Regions from separate parts of the Homo sapiens genome. Here region 2 is linked to region 1. Evidence: promoter capture Hi-C in human tissues and cell types (Jung and others, 2019). All regions are on one chromosome and are shown on one strand. Each heading gives the region's core, a stretch centred on a gene start or on the middle of the fragment in contact. The rest is flanking DNA. Distances are from core to core; before and after follow the strand shown.

What was found. The method cuts DNA at HindIII sites, captures the fragments that hold promoters and counts their contacts. A contact is called where the count stands out against the background at its distance.
Region 2: a fragment that was not itself captured here is called in contact with the fragment with the promoter of HSPB7 in region 1 in 1 of the 25 tissues and cell types used here (IMR-90 fibroblasts).

Annotation. Positions count from the first base shown.
Region 1 is chr1:16,015,942-16,021,284 of GRCh38, forward strand. HSPB7 (heat shock protein family B (small) member 7) reads right to left here and starts at 2,102. Exons shown (of 3, transcript NM_014424.5): 1 at 1,824-2,102; 2 at 1,133-1,266. The coding sequence starts at 2,022. RefSeq lists enhancers at 904-1,650, 1,651-2,395. The HindIII fragment of the contact is 13,638 bases long and covers 1-5,343 here.
Region 2 is chr1:16,380,872-16,386,214 of GRCh38, forward strand. All of the region lies in intron 1 of SZRD1 (SUZ RNA binding domain containing 1), which reads left to right. Among named protein-coding and RNA genes, the nearest start is that of SZRD1, 16 kb to the left of the region's middle. RefSeq lists enhancers at 1-152, 4,710-5,210, 5,211-5,343. The HindIII fragment of the contact is 7,164 bases long and covers 1-5,343 here.

The DNA.
Region 1 (5,343 bases), core at 852-3,351:
GCGCAGGGGTGCTTCGCAGAGCTCCAGTAGCTCCAAGGAACAGGCCAGGGACATGGGGAAGAGGTGGGGCTTGGAGAGAGAGGAGGCTCCGTGGCAGTGGCTCCGAATCTGGGGCTCCTGGGGAACGTGGAGGTGACAGAGGAGAGCCGTGCCTTCCTGGATCCCCGGGCACATTGGGCATCTGCCCGCCAGGGCTGAGCGCCGGCCCCTCCCCCGCAACTCAGCCAGCACATAGTGTCCAGGGGAGTTTGGGGCGGCTGAGTCACTGTTGGGGGTGGCAGGGCTGGCACATGCTGCCTGTGGGTTTTGGTGCCCCCAGTCCATGGCATCCCTGGCAGGGACGCCCAGAAATCCACCCTTGAATGTGGAGGGGAAGAAGCCAGTCCTTGGGGGCTTAGGAGGAGGCTTGGGTCAGGTCCTCTCCTCTCTCCTGGCAGCCGTGGCTGTCCCTGGGCAACGCCCCTGTTCAGGCCTGGCCATACCCTCTCCAGGGTGGAGGCCCCAGTGCCTCCTAGAAGTTCGGACTCAGACACGCTAGAGACCCAGTGACCCTGAGACCTGTGGGCGGGCGCTGTGTGTGGTTTGGAGTGTGTGTGACCCGAAACTGCAGGGCCCCTGCCCAGCCTCGGGCCTAATTTAGGGGTCCCAAGATGGGGGATGGGTCTCCAGCTGTGGGAGGGAAGAGGGCTTGAGGTGGGTCACATGGAGAAACCCCTCCCCCCACTGCCCAGGTGAGTTCCCCACCTACCCGCATCCGCCCCCCTATAGCTACCAGAGGAGCTGTCCTCACTCTGCCATCACCATCTCACACCTGTCATCTCCCACCCTCAAGCCCCACCCCCTCAGGCTCCCTCTGCCCACATCCCTCCATCCCTCTCCCATTCCTCGGAGGCTCCCTCAGCTGCTCAGGCCCTGGAAGAAAGGATCTGGGAACCTCGGTGCAAAGAGAGGCAGTGAGGGGGCCCCATGGCCATGGGTTGCAGGGACAAGGCCTTCAGTTAGCCCTGGGGGAGTTTGGGTGGGGAAGGGACACTGGCCAGGGTCTGGGGTCCCAGGATGGTAAGGGGGAGTAGGAGACATTGGAGGCAGGAGCAGAATTTGGGATGCGGTGAGTAGGGGGTGGGGGGCTCACCTTCTCAGCCCGCACCTCGATGTGGTTGTTGGAGGTGGTGACAATGATGTCTTCAGGTGAGAAGTCTCTCACGTCCACCGCAAACTCATAGGCGTCTCCTAGGGTCTTGATGTTGCCTGCCCCACCGGGGCGGGCTGTGGGATGGGCTGCTGTGAGCGAGGCATGGAGCAGGCCTTGCATGCAGATCCGGGGGTTCTGGCTCCTTCTCTTGGGGCAAGGGGCGGCTCCCCCAGGCCCTACCTCCCCCCTAGCTGTTTCTCCCTAAGCTCCTCCTCATTCCTACAGCCCACCTTTTCTGGGGTGGGGGTGGGGCCTCACCCAGCACAGTGTGTGTGTATATGAGGCTAGGTCTGTAACAACCCCACCCCAGGCCTGGAGCCTGGGGGCTGCCCCCCACCGCTCACCCATCCAGCCCTCCAGGGCTCCAGCTGGGATTGGCTGTGGTTACAGAGCATGGGTGGCCATGGAACCATGTCCAACCCCCAGGGCCACAACTGTTCCTTAGAGGCCCACCTGTTTTCATGGCCACATCTGTCCCTGTGGCCACATCTGTCTTGGTGGCCACACATGGCTGCAGGCTGTGCAGCACCTGTTCCAGGCCGACCGGCAGCCACAGCGCCTTCGGTGGCGCCCTGGAGCAGACGTCCCCTCCCTGTGCACCTCCCCTCCCCTCAGGGCCCGGATCACTTGCCTGGGAAGGCCAGGGGCTCCGAGTGGGGCCGCATGAAGCTGCCAAAGTCATCGGAAAACATGCTCAGGGCCTTCTCCATGGGCGGGTCCTGGGCCGGGAGAGCACGGGAGGCCGAGGAGGAGGTGGAAGAGGAGGAGGAAGAGGAAGAGGAATGGAAACTTCTCTCCGCTCGGAAGGTGGAAGAGGTTCTGTGGCTCATCCACGGACGGCGCCGGGCCCTGCCCAGGCGGGCGAGGGCTGGACAGGAGAGGGTGTGGGCGCAGGCCTCTGGGCGAGCGTGCCAGGCTCCGACTGCGGCCGCTTTATAAGGCCGACTGTCCCTGGGCTTGGGGCCAGCCCCTTGTCTACTAGCTAAATTTAGGCCTCTCCATGGCCCAGAGGGGGCTGGAAATCTTCTCCCGTGCGCCGGCCCTGCTGACAGCCCGACACGCAGGCCGAGAGGGCTGAGCTCACAGCCTGACATTCCAGGCTGATCACAGCAGCCCCAGGGGCCTCCTCACCACTGCACAGGGCTGGATCCTGTCTCCTTGCCACTCGGACCTCGGTGCCTGCCCCAGAACCTTGCAAGTTTGGGGTTTATTGTGTGTTTTGTTTCCCCCGTCAGCCTGGGGGCTCCTGAGGACTGTGCCTCCCCTCCAGACTCTGGTTCTCCTCCACGGCTGTACCTCCTCCATCAGTGTGCAGGCTCCTTGGGGACAGGGTAGGTGGAAGCACCACCGCTCTGTGACGTCAGGAGCTCCTTCCCTCAAGGCAGACAACCTTCACAGCCCATCTCTAAGGAAAGGTTGAGCCCTGCCAGGGGGTGTAAAATGTGCAGCTGTCCCCTGCCAGCCCCCATGGGGACCTGGATTCTGTGCCTGCACTCCCTCTGACTCTCAGAACATTCAGCAGCCCCAAGAGGACAAAGTTGGCAGCTTTCTCCTTAAAGGTCTAGAAGGTTGTGTTCCCGGCAACTGTCTGCTCCATCTCTGTGTCAGAGGTGATGCCTGCGAGCGCCTTAGGTGGGATTTCAGTCAGAGGTAAAAGAGAATTCCGGAAGACAATTATTCTAGCCCTGAGTTCTAGAATGCCTTCTGGGCATGGGCTCCTGGCTGCAAGCTGTCCAGCACGGCCCCGTTTGATCCCCACACAGCTGGGAGGGTGGAGGGGCTCTTCCCATGTTACGGACGGGGAAGCGAAGCCTCTTGGAAAGGGCGGGGCTCGCAGTTGCGTAAGTGGCAGAGCTGGGATTCGAACCTAGATGTGTTGGACCCAAAGCCCTTCAGAGGCCGAGGTGGTTTGAACATGTGCCTATGGAGACAGGCTGGCCCGGAAGAGCCAGAGAAGCCCCTCCCTACCCACCTGCTTGCTCAGCAAAGCTGGGACTGACCTTGCCCTGGGCCAGGGTGGAGGCCATTCTGAGAGGCGGCCAGGCCCTCTGCTCTGCCCAGGTTGCAGTTAAGGGCCTCTGCTGTCCTCTCCAAATCCGTCCCTTCCGTCCCAGATCAGCTCCAATGCCTCCTCCCCCAGGGAGGCCTCTCTGACTGCTCCTGCTCACATGGGCCCACACCCAGTCCAGATGCCCCCAGCACTGACTGTCTTTGTCCTCCCACAGCACCTGGCAGTGTGACATAGTCTTCCTGTGTGCTGTGACTCTCTGCTGTGTCCCTTCTTCCCTATCCAACTGGCAGTTCCCACGGGGGCGAGGGTTCACCTGTCTCCCCATTAGATTGAAGGTTCTTGAAGACGGGCAGTTTCTCTTTTGTCTGAGCCCCCTACAACCCAGTCTGGAGCTTCATCCTGGAGAGCTCCTTCTACAGGGGTATTAGCGGTGCTGGTGGTATGTGGAGTGGAAGCAGAGCAGGGCACAGGGCACAGCGGCGGGCCAGGCTGTTGCCTGGAGCAACAGGGCCTGTTGCCTCTGGCAGAGTTTCCTGCCCGTGTCGGGGCCTGTGACACCCAGCCTGGCTGAGGGGTTTCTAGGGCAGCTGGGAAGCCACCAGCACTGAGGTGAGATGGAGAGAGGGTGGGGCGGGGTGGGGGGCCCAGAGCCTGCCGCTCGCCAGGGAAACAGGAGCCGGTGGCTAAATGCAGACACACTGTCATGGTGCTGAGGGCCTGAGTCACTGCCCCTGGATGTCAGATCCCGTTACCCACCCCCGCCCACCATTCCTCCTCCCCTTTTTCCCCCTTCCCGAGGCATCACCCACACAAATACTGGATCCTCTGGCTTCACTGACCCAGAGGGACCTCAAAAGGTCATCAAGGACATTCCCCTGCCTCTACCTTCAGATCACAGAGACAGAAGGAGCTACAAAGATGATGCAGTCCTTTGAATCCCAGTCACCCAGGAGAGCTTTTCACAAACACAGACCCTTTCCTTGGACCCCAGGATTTTGATTTGGGATCTGGGGAAGGGACCTCACATCTCTTCCCATCAGCTCCCCACACAGCCAGCTCATAGGCCAGTGATGAAGCCCTCATCACTCAGTAGGTATTCATTGAAACCTTGCTATAAATAGGTGCTGGGCACTGTTCTAGGCTCTGAAGGACTCAGAGATGAATAAGGCAGAGACAGGCCCCTGCTTCCAGGCTCACCTCATCATACAGAAGAGGAAACTGAGGCTCTAGTTGATGAAAGAGTTAGGGTCAGCAGAGCTGTGCTGGCTTCAAACCGGTCATCCTGCTGAGCCACCCTGGCTGCCCTCTTCTCAGCCTCCTGGTGCACACAGGGCTGGGGGGTGAGGGTAGATGTGGACGTGCAGTGCTGGCTGTGGGACAGTAGCCAGCAGCTGCCCCAGACCAGACACTGGAAATCGGGATGTTGACAGGGCAGCCAGTTCTGGTGCTGTGCAGAGTCAACAGGTCGGGGTGGCCAAGGTGAAGGTGGGCTCGAGTCCATACAGAGCGGCAACTCCCATCCCACCTCCCACAACACACATCTTTGATTTTGATTTGACTTGCCTGGCATCTAGGGGCAAAGGGTGGCCCAGGGTCCCAGATTTTAACAATCATCCAAGGGCTATCATAAGCTTCAGAGGGTGGCTTTGTCTGGGTGGGAGTGGAGGCAATTGTCCCCAACCTCTTGCCCAAAAGTGGCATCAGACACAACTCTTCTGTTCTGTGCCCAAACCATTGCCCTGGTTCAGCCTCAGGAGCTGGAGGAGCTTTGGGCAGGGGAAGAGCTGCACAGTGTGGGGCTGGGTTCAGCCTCTGCTGTGTGACCTTGGATGAGTGACTCACCTCTCTGACCATCTACAAAATGGCGAGGCTCTCCCCATTCACAGGGTGTGGGAAGGAGGACTTGAGCTGCAGATGTGACGCTCCTGACACGTCGCAGGCACACGGCAGGTGCTTGTTCCTCGCCATGTCCCCTCACACCTGTGCTGCCATCCTCTGTTGGGGTGGGACAAACTCTGTGGAATTACCCAGAAGTCCCCACCAGAGCCGCTGGCCCTTGGACGTGTGCTTTGAGAAGCATTTCCTGAGCCTGGAGGGTCTGGACACAGGATCAAGTCCGAGTTCCTGACCCCAATTCACT
Region 2 (5,343 bases), core at 1,060-3,559, 370 kb after region 1:
GCTGAGATTACAGATGTGAGCCACTGCACCCAGCCCCTCATCTTTTTTTTTTTTTTAAAGAAAAAAATAGCTGGGCATAGTGGCATGTGCTTGTAATCCCAGCTGCTCAGGAGGCTGAGGCAGATCGCTTGAGTCCAGGAAATCAAGGCTACAGTGAGCTATGATTGCATCACTGCACTCCAGCCTGGGCAACAGAGCAAGACCCTGGCTCGTTAAAAAAAAAAAAAAAAAAACTAGCCAGGTGTGGTGGCACATGCCTATAATCCCAGCTGCTCAGGAGGCCGAGGCCGAAGGATCACTTGAGTCCAGGAGTGTGAGGCTGCAGTGAGCTGTGATTGTACCATTGCACTGTAGTTTGAACAACAGAGCAAGAACTTGTTTCTTAAAAAAATAAATAAAAAATAATGTTGGGCATGGTGGCTCACACCTGTAATCCCAGCACTTTGGAAGGCCGAGGTGGGTGGATCACTTGAAGTCAGGAGTTTGACAGCCTGGCCAGCATGGTGAAACCCCATCTCTGTAGAAATACAAAAAAATTAGCCAGGTGTGGTGGCACACGCCTGTAATCCCAGCTACTTGGGAGGCTGAGACAGGAGAATCGCTTGAACCCCTGAGGTGGAGGTTGCAGTGAGCTGAGATCGTGCCATTGCACTCCAGCCTGGGCGACAGCGAGACTTCATCTCAAAAAAAAAAAAAAAAAGATCAGAGAAGGTCTCTTAAAGATAGGTAGAGAGATTTAAAAGAAGTGCAGCAACAAGCTGCTTAGAAGCTCGTTGAAGGCCGAGTGCGGTGGCTCACCCATGTAATCTCAGCACTTTGGGAGGCTGAAGCAGGCGGATCACCTAAGGTCAGGAGTTCAAGACCAGCCTGGGCAACATGGTGAAGCTCTGTCTCTACTAAAAATACAAAAATTAGCCGGGTGTGGTGGCAGGCGCCTGTAATCCCAGCTACTCAGAAGGTTGAGGCAGGTTTGAACCCAGGAGGTGGAGGTTGCAGTGAGCTGAGATCGTGCCACTGCACTCCAGCCTGGGCGACAGAGCAAGACTCCATTGCAAAACAAAACCAAAAAGAAAGAAGCTGGTTGAAGTGCGTTCTAGGCAGAGGGAACAGCAAATGCTAAGGCCCAGAGGCTGGAGCATGATTGTTTTGTCTTGAACAGTGGGGCCAATGTGGTGGCCATGCTTGATAGGGGAGAGTGGTAGGAGATGAGGTCAGAGGTAGTGGACAGCCAGATTTAGTAGAGACCCGTAGGCCAAGATGGATATCACCTCAAAATAGCACCAGGAGAGGGTGCTGAGCAGGGGCTAGCATGGGTGGGTTTTTTTTTTCTTTTTTGAGATGGAGTCTTGTCTGTCGCCCAGGCTGGAGTGCAGTGGCCCGATCTCAGCTCACTGCAGCCTCCGCCTCCCGGGTTCAAGCGATTCTCCTGCCTCAGCCTCCTGAGTAGCTGGGACTACAGGTGCACGCCACTGTGCCCAGCTGATTTTTATGTTTTTAGTAGAAATAGGGTTTCACCATGTTGGCCAGGCTGGTCTGGAACTCCTGATCTCAGGTGATCCGCCCACTTCGGCCTCCCAAAATGCTGGGATTACAGGCATGAACCACTGCGCCTGGCCACATGGTTTTTTTTTTTGTTTTTTTTTAATGGAGTCTCACTCTGTCACCCAGGCTGGAGTGCAGTGACACAATCTCAGCTCACCGCAACCTCCCCCTCCCGAGTTCAAGCGATTCTCCTGCCTCAGTCTCCCGAGCAGCTGGGATTACAGGCATGCGCCATCACACCTGGCTAATTTTTGCACTTTTGGTGGAGACAGGGTTTCACCATGTTGGCTATGCTGGTCTTAAACTCCTGACCTCAGGTGATCCGCCAGCCTCGGCACTCCCAGAGTTCTGGGATTACAGGCGTGAGCCACTGTGCCGAGTCGGGACCCATCTTCTAAGGTTAGACTCTAAAGCAGTGTTGTCCAACAGAAGGTACAATGTGAGCCACATGGATAATTTTTTTTTTTTTTGAGACGGAGTCTCACTCTCTCCCCCCTGCTAGAGTACAATGGTGCAATCTCAGCTTACTGCAACCTCCGCCTCCCGGGTTCTAGCGATTCTCCTGCCTCAGCCTCCTGAGTAGCTGGAATTACAGGTGCCCGCCACCACGTCCGGCTAATTTTTGTATTTTTAGAAGGGACAGGGTTTCACCATATTGCTCAGGCTGGTCTGGAACTCCTGACCTCAGGTGATGCACCCACCTCGGCCTCCCAAAGACACATGGGTAATTTTATATTTTCTTTTTCTTTTCTTTCTTTCTTTCTCTCCTTCCTTCCTTCCTTCCTTCTTGCTTGCTTCTTTCCTTTTTTTTTTCTTTTCTTTCGAGGTGGGGCCCCACTCTGTCATGCACCTGGAGTGCAATGGCACAATCATAGCTCACTGCTGCCTCAAACTCTTGGACTTAAGCAATCCTCCCACTTCAGCAGCCTCCCAAGTAGCTGGGACTACAGGTGTGTGCCACCATGCCCAGCTAATTTTTTATTTTTTGTAGAGTTGAGGTCTTACTTTCTTGTCCAGGCTGGTCTTGAACTCCTGGTTTCAAGCAATTCTCCTCTTTCAGCCTCCCAAAGTGTTGGGATTACAGGCATGAGCCACTGCCTCAGCCTTAATTTTATATTTTCTAGAAGCAACATTTTAAAAGTACAAAGAAACAGATGAAATTAATTTTAATTTTTTTCTTTTTTTTTCTTTTCTTTCTTTCTTTTTTTCCTTTTTTTTTTTTTTTAGACAGAGTCTTGCTCTGTTGCCCAGGCTGGAGTGCAGTGGTGCAATCTCAGCTCACTGCAACCTCTGCCTCCTGGGTTCAAGCGATTCTCCTGCCTCAGCCTCCTGAGTAGCTGGGATTACAGGCATGCGCCACCACGCCTGGCTAATTTTTGTATTTTTAGTAGAGATAGGGTTTCACCATGTTGGCCAGGCTGGTCTGGAACTCCTGACCTCGTGATCCGCCCGCCTGGGCCTCTCAAAGTGCTGGGATTACAGGCGTGAGCCACCGCGGCTGGCCAGTTTTAATATTTTTAATTTAACTCAGTATGTCCAAAATAGTATAATTGTAACATGATTATTATTTTAAAATACGTGAATTGTTTAAAAATATGTGAAGCATCCCTGTAAAATCAAACCTGGGGTGATAGGACTTGGGGTGTGTCCCTCTCTGGGATTAGTCAGGGGAAGTAGAATAATTACAGGAGCATTGGAGGTGGCCAGTCCTAGTCATACCAGGCCAGGACACTGTCACTGCTATGCTACTGATGGAAACAAGGCAGAGACGAAACAGAATTAAATCAACATGGAGGTTGTTTGGAGAAGTCCATGGATTGTACATCTGAACTTGAAATGGCCAGTGGCCAGGCACAGTGGCTCACACATAATCCCAGTACTTTGGGAGAGTGAGGTGGGAGGATCACTTGAGCCCACAGTTCAAGAGCAGCCTGGAGAACATAGCAAGACCCCGTCTCCACCAAAAAAAAAAAAAAAAGGGAAAAAGAAATGGCTAATGATGCGGGAGACATTTTTATCTGATAGTTTTAGACCAGATTTTGCTGTTGTAGATTGCTTCTACCTGTGAATTCTTTGACTGTATTCCCAAGTGAAATTGGGAATTCTGATTCCCAAGGAATCAGAATCCCATCCATATTTGTGGTATGGGAAACAAGACCCCTTGCAGGGGAGACTGGTCCACCAGGAGACCCTGTAGCCCAGGGACCTGGGCGCCAGTGTCCCTCCCAAGGCCTGAAGACATAAGGCTAGCATGGGCCGTGGCTGGCTGTGTGGGAGTTCAGGGCCGGAACAGGTTGGAAGGTAGTCTCGCCTGCTATCCCTTATTTCTTCTCTTTGCTTTTTTCTTTGCCCTTTGCTTTTTGTGTTACTCAGGGCCTGTGGGACCCTGATTCTGGGAGAAATCTGTTGTGCTCTCCAGGTTCCTGTCTCTTCTTCAGATCTCCCCGGGTCCACTTGTAGACTTGTGCACCCTGATTCAGGATGAGACCAGAGGACCCTGTGGGGCAGCGATTCATAGGGAGCTCAAGGCCAGTTGTTATTCTTTGAATTTGAGAGAAACATTGGAAATGTCATCTTCTGAAATGAAAACTAACAGAGAAAGGCAAATCATTTGGGAAAAGTTACTTAAATGGTAACCTTGTTGCCAATAAAAGAGTATTTTCTAATTCAAAGTCCAAAGCAAGGGTCCCTCTTAGATCTCTGTTCAATATAAGATTGCTCTATTTCTTGGGAGTCGTGTTGGTGACACTGGAGACCAGAGGATTCCGGTTCTCAGAGAGAGGGATGCTGTGATGGAGTAGGACAGTACAGTCTTTTGGCTTGTATACTGAGGCACAGAGTGGGGAGGCCTGCTGTCCTTGGGGAGTGGGTAGCAGCAGATCAGGCACCAGAAAGGGTGAGACACCCCCTCTGACCCTTGTAGTGTAACAGGTGTGAGTTTGTTCACTTTGTCTCTTGTGAGCTTGGCTAGTTCGAATCAGTCCCCCAGGGCATCATCACCCCAGGCTGTTGTGTAAACATTCGTACCTGAGAAGGTACAACTGTAATGGTGCTTATACTTGCTGTGCTTTACACTAAGACCCAGAATAGCCTATTTCTTCCTCTCCTCTGCCTTTCTCACCTTTCTTTTTTCCTTGTCATCGACCTCTTAACGTTACAGGAGTAAACCTACCACTGTAATCTGCTTCACCTTACAGACACATCCCTATCTTTTGTCACCTTTGTTCCTTTTGTAGCTTGTGACAGTAACAAACTGGGTTGTTTGAGGTGACCCCTTCCCTGCTCTCCTCCTTGGGAATGATCTTATCCGCATTGTACTCCTAGGTCCCATACCCTAACTTTTCAGCCAGAGGCACATTTATAGCAAGGTTAAGGGCATCAGCAGCCAGTGAAGCTGAGCTTCCTCCTCTGGTGAGTTAAAATTGCAAATGTTGACATCTGATCCCATTCACCTTGTGGTTGTGGCTCTCCTTTACCTCCCATAAAGGACCAGCCCTGTCGAGAACCACCTTCCTCCCCACTGTGCTTCTTCATGATTTCCTGCCTCCGCTCTTTCCTTCTGGCTTTGCTTGTTCTCTGAGACCGAGAAGCTTGTGTCCCATTTCTGTAGATGTGTAGCCTCATAGGACAAGTGATGTCAAGGTTTGGCAACAGTAGATCTTTTGCTTAGGATTTGGACCCGGAACACAGAATGTCACCTTCTGTGGGCTGCTTGGTGCTACTTGGCTGAAGAGCCTTTCCAGGAGCAGGAGCCATAGGAGATCACTTTCCTGGCCACCGCCCTGTGTGGTATGCTTGTGC